Regions from separate parts of the Homo sapiens genome. Here region 2 is linked to region 1. Evidence: promoter capture Hi-C in 16 types of primary human blood cells and fetal thymus (Javierre and others, 2016). All regions are on one chromosome and are shown on one strand. Each heading gives the region's core, a stretch centred on a gene start or on the middle of the fragment in contact. The rest is flanking DNA. Distances are from core to core; before and after follow the strand shown.

Region 1 (2,826 bases), core at 159-2,658:
GTCTAATATGTCATCTGCTAAAGGGGGACTTTGCCTGGGCACAGTGGCTCATGCCTGTAAATCCAGCACTTTGGGAGGCTGAAGCAGGTGGATCATTTGAGCCCAGGAGTTTGAGACCATACTGGCCAACACAGTAAGACCCCATCTCTATAAAAAAAAAAAAACAAAATTAGCCAGGTGTGGTGGTGCACGCCTGCAGTCCTAGCTACTTGGGAGGCTGAGACGGGAGGATCACTTGAACCCAGGAGTTGGAGGCTGCAGTGAGCTATGATCCTGCCACTGCACTCCAGCCTGGGCAATAGAGTGAGACCCTGTCCTCCACCAACACCAAAAAAAAAAACAAAAAAACAAAACAGGGCTCCTCTCTCTTGGTAGGGGGTGGAGGGGAGGTCAGAGACACCTCTCAGCCACCCGGGCTGATTCACAAATATCGAACATTCACTAAAATGTCAATACAGTGACCTAGAGCCAGAGGGGAAGAGGGAGGGTACAAGAGGAGAGTTCCAGGCAGAGGGGCGAGCAGGTGAGTAGGTGCAAAGGCCCTAAGCAGGAACCAGTTTGGCTCCATAAATATTTGTTGACTCAATGAACGATAGAAGATTCTAGAGAGAATTGATTGCACAGAATCACCCATGGGGACTCAGAGGCGGAGTCCAAGCTGGTTTCGGAGGGGGCTGGGGGCCGGAGGTTGGCAGGTGGGGTGAAGGATGGGAGCCGCTAGCTGCTGGCAGGAAAACTGGCTTCAGTGAAGATCTGGTCTGGTCCTCTTGGTTTGTTTCTGTCCAGGGAGTGGACAGGACCCATGTAAGGGCCCTGGGCTATCCCAGAACCCATCTGGGAATTCTGAAGAGAAAAAGTCCTGTAACTGGCCGGGTGCGGTGGCTCACGCCTGTAATCCCCGCACTTTGGGAGACTGAGGGGCCGATCACGAGGTCAGGAGTTCGAGACCAGCCTGGAAAACATGATGAAACCTCGTCTCTACTAAAAATACAAAAGTTAGCCGGGCATGGTGATGGGGACCTGTAGTCCCAGCTACTCGGGAGGCTGAGGCAGGAGAATCACTTGAACCCAAGAGGCAGAGGTTGCAGTGAGCCGAAATGAGATGGCACCACTGCACTCCAGCTTGGGCCACAGAGCGAGACTCCGTCTCAAAAAAGAAAGAAAAAAAGAAAAAGTCCTCATAAGTAGGGCAGAGGTCACGGCAGAGTGGAGGTACCCCAGACTTCGACCTTTGCTCACTGAGGGCTGGAAAACCACAAAACACCCAGATAACGGTCTTCCCTCCCCTGCTCCTGCCTGCCCCAGTGTCACTGGCCCTCAACCCTGTCTCTCCACCCTGTCCACCAATCAGCACCTGGAGGTGGGCTGGGAGCTGCCTGTGACCGCTTCAGCATCTTTTGGGAGTGGTGACAGAGCCACAGAGGGCTGTGAGCTTGCCCGGCCCCAGGTAACGCTGGCGGTGGGTGGGCCTCCAGCTTGGAGCAGAGACCCCCCGAGGCATCTGCAGACAGAACTGGATGGACCCATGAATACGGATTTAGCTGCTGGAAAGGTGAGCCCTACTAGGTCCCCAGGGAGAGCGGGAGTCTAGGCTGGGAAAGCCTACCCAAGCTGCCAGAGCTGGAAGGACCCCATCTCCACCCCTATTGTACAGATGGGAAGACTGAGGCCCAGAGAAAGGATGCAATGAGCAAAACTGTGTGCCTTTGCCCCGGGGCTGCCCTTGTCTTTCTTCCAGGTCCCCCTGCCTCCTAGGAGCGGGCACTTGGGGAGGCTGTGAAGGCCTGAGAGGCAAGCGGCATCTCTAGCTAGGGCCTCTCTCCAGCACTTTTTATTTTATTTTATTTTATTTTTATTTTTATTTTTTGAGATGGAGTCTCCCTCTGTCACCCAGGCTAGAGTGCAATGGCACGATCTCAGCTCACTGCAACTTCCACCTCCTGGGTTCAAGAGATCTTCCTGCCTCAGCCTCCCAAGTAGTTGGGATTACAGGTGTGCACCACCACGCCCGGCTAATTTTTGTACTTTTCCTAGAGACAGGGTTTCACCATGTTGGCTAGGCTGGTCTCAAACTCCTGACTTCAGGTGAGCTGCCCGCCTCGGCTTCCCAGAGTGCTGGGATTACAGATGTGAGCCACCGTGCCTGCCATACTTTTTTGTTTTTTGAAACAAGGTCTTGCTCTGTGACCCAGGGTGGAGTGCAGTGGGGTGGCCATAGCTCACTGCAGCCTCAACCTCCTGGGTTCAAGGGATCCTCCTACCTCAGCCTCCCCAGTAGCTGGGACGACAAGTGTGTGCCACCGCAGCCAGCTAATTTTTTTAAATTATTTGCAGTAGGGATAGGGGTCTCTATGTTGCGCAGGCTGGTCTTGAACTCCTGGGCTCAAGTGATCCTCCTGCCCCGGCCTCCCAAAGTGCTGAGATTACAGGCATGAGCCACCACATCCAGCCTCTCCAGCACTTTAAGAGAAATTGGCTCTCACACTGTGGAATTCTCTCTATCAGCCTCAAAGTCCAGATTTGGAAAGGGAGTCTCAGCGAGGGGCAGCAGCTGGCCCAACCCGGAGGCAGAGCGGCAACTGAACTCTAGCCGGAAAGAGCCAGGGTTATGTGCACATGGGAGGTGGGGAGGACAGGGGCTGTATGTGACCCTCACATCTGTTCCTCGCGCCCCAGATGGCTTCTGCTGCCTGCTCCATGGACCCCATCGACAGCTTTGAGCTCCTGGATCTCCTGTTTGACCGGCAGGACGGCATCCTGAGACACGTGGAGCTGGGCGAGGGCTGGGGTCACGTCAAGGACCAGGTGAGGAGTCCACTGCAGTTG
Region 2 (2,826 bases), core at 183-2,682, 290 kb before region 1:
GGCTCATGAGCCGCTCGTGTCAAGGGCAGGACAAGATGGCAAACCCCAGGTTCTCATGAGCAACCACAACCGGCCTCGAACCACCAACCTGGACTCAACCAACGACACTCAAAACAACAGACACCACCGGCTCTTTATACATCCATGGCAAGGGCCTGGGGACATTACAGGTCACTCTGCTCCCAAGGGGCAGAGCTCACCACAGACTTCACCTCCTGCGGCAGGACTGGCCTTCCCAGATCCACAATGCCGCGGAAGCAGAGCCATGCCGCCTCTCCACTCTCCGCCAACCGCGACAAGTAAACGACTCACAATAGGTCCATTTAAAAAGGCAAATGGAACTTACCTTAGGGGAAAAAAACCTGCCCAAAGCAAAAGGAACATATCCACCAAAAAAAGAAGTGTCATTCCCCCAAATATGTACAAATTAACTTTCTAGCTAAAAGAAATCTGGCAACTTTAAAATTAAAGTTGAGCAGAGCGCGGTGGCTCACATCTGTAATCCCAGCACTTTGGGAGGCCGAGGCAGGTGGATCACTTAAGCTCAGGAGTTTGAGACCAGCCTGGCCGATGGCAAAACCCCGTCTCTACAAAAAAATACAACATTTAGCCTGGTGTGGTGGTGTTTACCTGAAATCCCAACTACTTAGGAGGCCGAGGAGGGAGGACTGCTTGAGGCCAGGAGGTTGAGGCTGCATTAAGTTATGACCACACCACTGTGCTCCAGCCTGGGTGACAGAGTGAGACCCTATCTCAAAAAATAATTGAAATAGGGCTGGGCACGGTGGCTCACGCCTGTAATCCCAGCACTTTGGGAGGCCAAGGCAGGTGGATCACCTGAGATCAGGGGTTTGAGACCAGCCCGGCCAACATGGTGAAACCTCGTCTCTATTAAAAATACAAAAATTGGCTGGGCGTGGTGGTGCATGCCTGTAGTCCCAGCTGCTAGGGAGGCTGAGGCAGGAGGATTGCTTAAACTCGTGAGCCAGACGTTGCAGTGAGCCGAGATCGCGCCATTGCACTCCAGCCTGGGCAACAGAGTGAGACCCTGTCTCAAAAATAATAATAATAAAATACAAAGACAATGAACACAGGGTTTACAAGTCCCTTTCTACGTGTTTTCCTTATTTTTCTAGGGCTGCCTAGTTATTTATCTGATCAGGGCCTTTGTCCCATGACCCCCAGAACCCCAGGAAAGAACACCAATATTCATTACCCTCAGGTGAAAAGACTGTTTTCCAGGGCCATTTGAAAATGCTTTTAAATCTGATGTATTTGTTCTGATCATTCTAAATACACACGTTGGTAGACCCACACAAGAGACAAATACAAAATAAAACTATTAAAAATCCAGAAACAGAGAATATGTTTAGGAGAGAAAAAAGTCTCCTAGGAATTTACTTCTGCCCCAGTATGTATGAACTAACTTTTGGTTCTTTTCTTTTGAGATGGAGTCTCACTCGGTTGCCCAGGCTGGAGTGCAATGGCGCAATCTCAGCTCACTGCAACCTCCACCTCCCGGATTCAAGCGATTCTCCTGCCTCAGCCTCCCGAGTAGCTGGGACCACAGGCACGTGCCACCACACCCAGGTAATTTTTGGATTTTCAATTGAGATGGGGTTTCACCATGTTGGCCAGGCTGGTCTGGAACTCTTGACCTCAGGTGATCTGACTGCCTCAGCCTCCCCAAATGCTGGGATTACAAGTGTGAGCCACCGTGCCTGGCCTAACTTTTGGTTCTAAAACAAGTAAGATGAAAAATCAAAATCCACACTTCAAAAACATCCAATCTACCTAATTCCTTGTATAGGAGCTCAGACCGCAAGTCCTGTCATTTGAAAAGGTTTCCTGAAAGTACACTTCAACCCATTTTCACGTGCAGCCGGCAGCTGCCTCTCGGATTCTCTTCTAAGGAGTTCAGCCCCTAACACGTATTTCAGCCTTGCTGAGAAGGGCGTGAAAAAGACCGCAGCAACATGGGAGGGGCAAGTTCCCCCCTCGCTCCTCCAGGGTCGTGCTCCCTGGAAAGAATGGGTGCAGCAGAGGCACAGTTACTTATTAGGATGTGCAAACAGCTGGAGGGGCCCACGGTCTCACTTTCCTGGGGCTTTTTGGACCTGGTGGTAGGAGTCCATTTACAGGTATGCGCCCTGGCCCCCAAGGTGGCGACATCGGACTCTCCAGGGCAGCCTGTGTTCCTTGGACCTAAGCTCAAAGGACGGGGTTGGCCTTGGTGGGTGGGGTTTCCACTGGAAGGACCTGGAGGCCTGCCGGAGGGCGAGCGTGGCGTCTGGGCTGGGTATGACCAGGTCGGTTCTGAAGCCGGTTGCAGCCACACCTGGCAGGCAGGGGCTCCCATCAGGGGTATTAACAGGTTCTGTCACTGGCACTGGGGCTGCCGAGCCTGTTCTCATGGTCAGCATGGGCTCCGGGCCTTTTTCAAGCTACCTGTTGCCCGGGAGACATTTTTGAGAGATACGGGTTGGGTCACCGTTACTTTCCCAGTGACACGGGGCCATGTGCTGTCTCAATGTCCCCACTCCGGGGAGGGGCTCTTGTTTTTTTATTGTTTTTTGAGACAGGGTCTCTCGCTGTCGCCCAGGCTGCAGTGCAGTGGTGCGATCATAGCTCAATGTAGCTTCAACTTCCTGGCCTCAAGCAATCCTCCCTCCTCGGCCTCCCAAAGTGCTGGGACTGCAGGTGTGCACTGCCATGCCTGGCCATGTGTTTTTTAATGTCTAAAGGATGTAGCCCTAAACCACTATCTGACCGGGCCCTGAACTAGCAGGGCAGGGGCAGGTGACAGCGTAAAGGATGGCAATAACA

The links. Contacts are between HindIII fragments. The CHiCAGO score rates a contact against its expected background, and 5 or more counts as called.
Region 2: a contact is called between a fragment that was not itself captured here and the fragment with the promoter of CREB3L3 in region 1, in 1 of 17 cell types (M2 macrophages). The highest score is 5.2, in M2 macrophages.

Annotation. Positions count from the first base shown.
Region 1 is chr19:4,152,223-4,155,048 of GRCh38, forward strand. It overlaps CREB3L3 (cAMP responsive element binding protein 3 like 3), which reads left to right and starts at 1,409. Exons shown (of 10, transcript NM_032607.3): 1 at 1,409-1,552; 2 at 2,677-2,805. The coding sequence starts at 1,526. The HindIII fragment of the contact is 35,033 bases long and covers 1-2,826 here.
Region 2 is chr19:3,860,871-3,863,696 of GRCh38, forward strand. All of the region lies in intron 1 of ZFR2 (zinc finger RNA binding protein 2), which reads right to left. Among named protein-coding and RNA genes, the nearest start is that of ZFR2, 6.8 kb to the right of the region's middle. The HindIII fragment of the contact is 8,504 bases long and covers 1-2,826 here.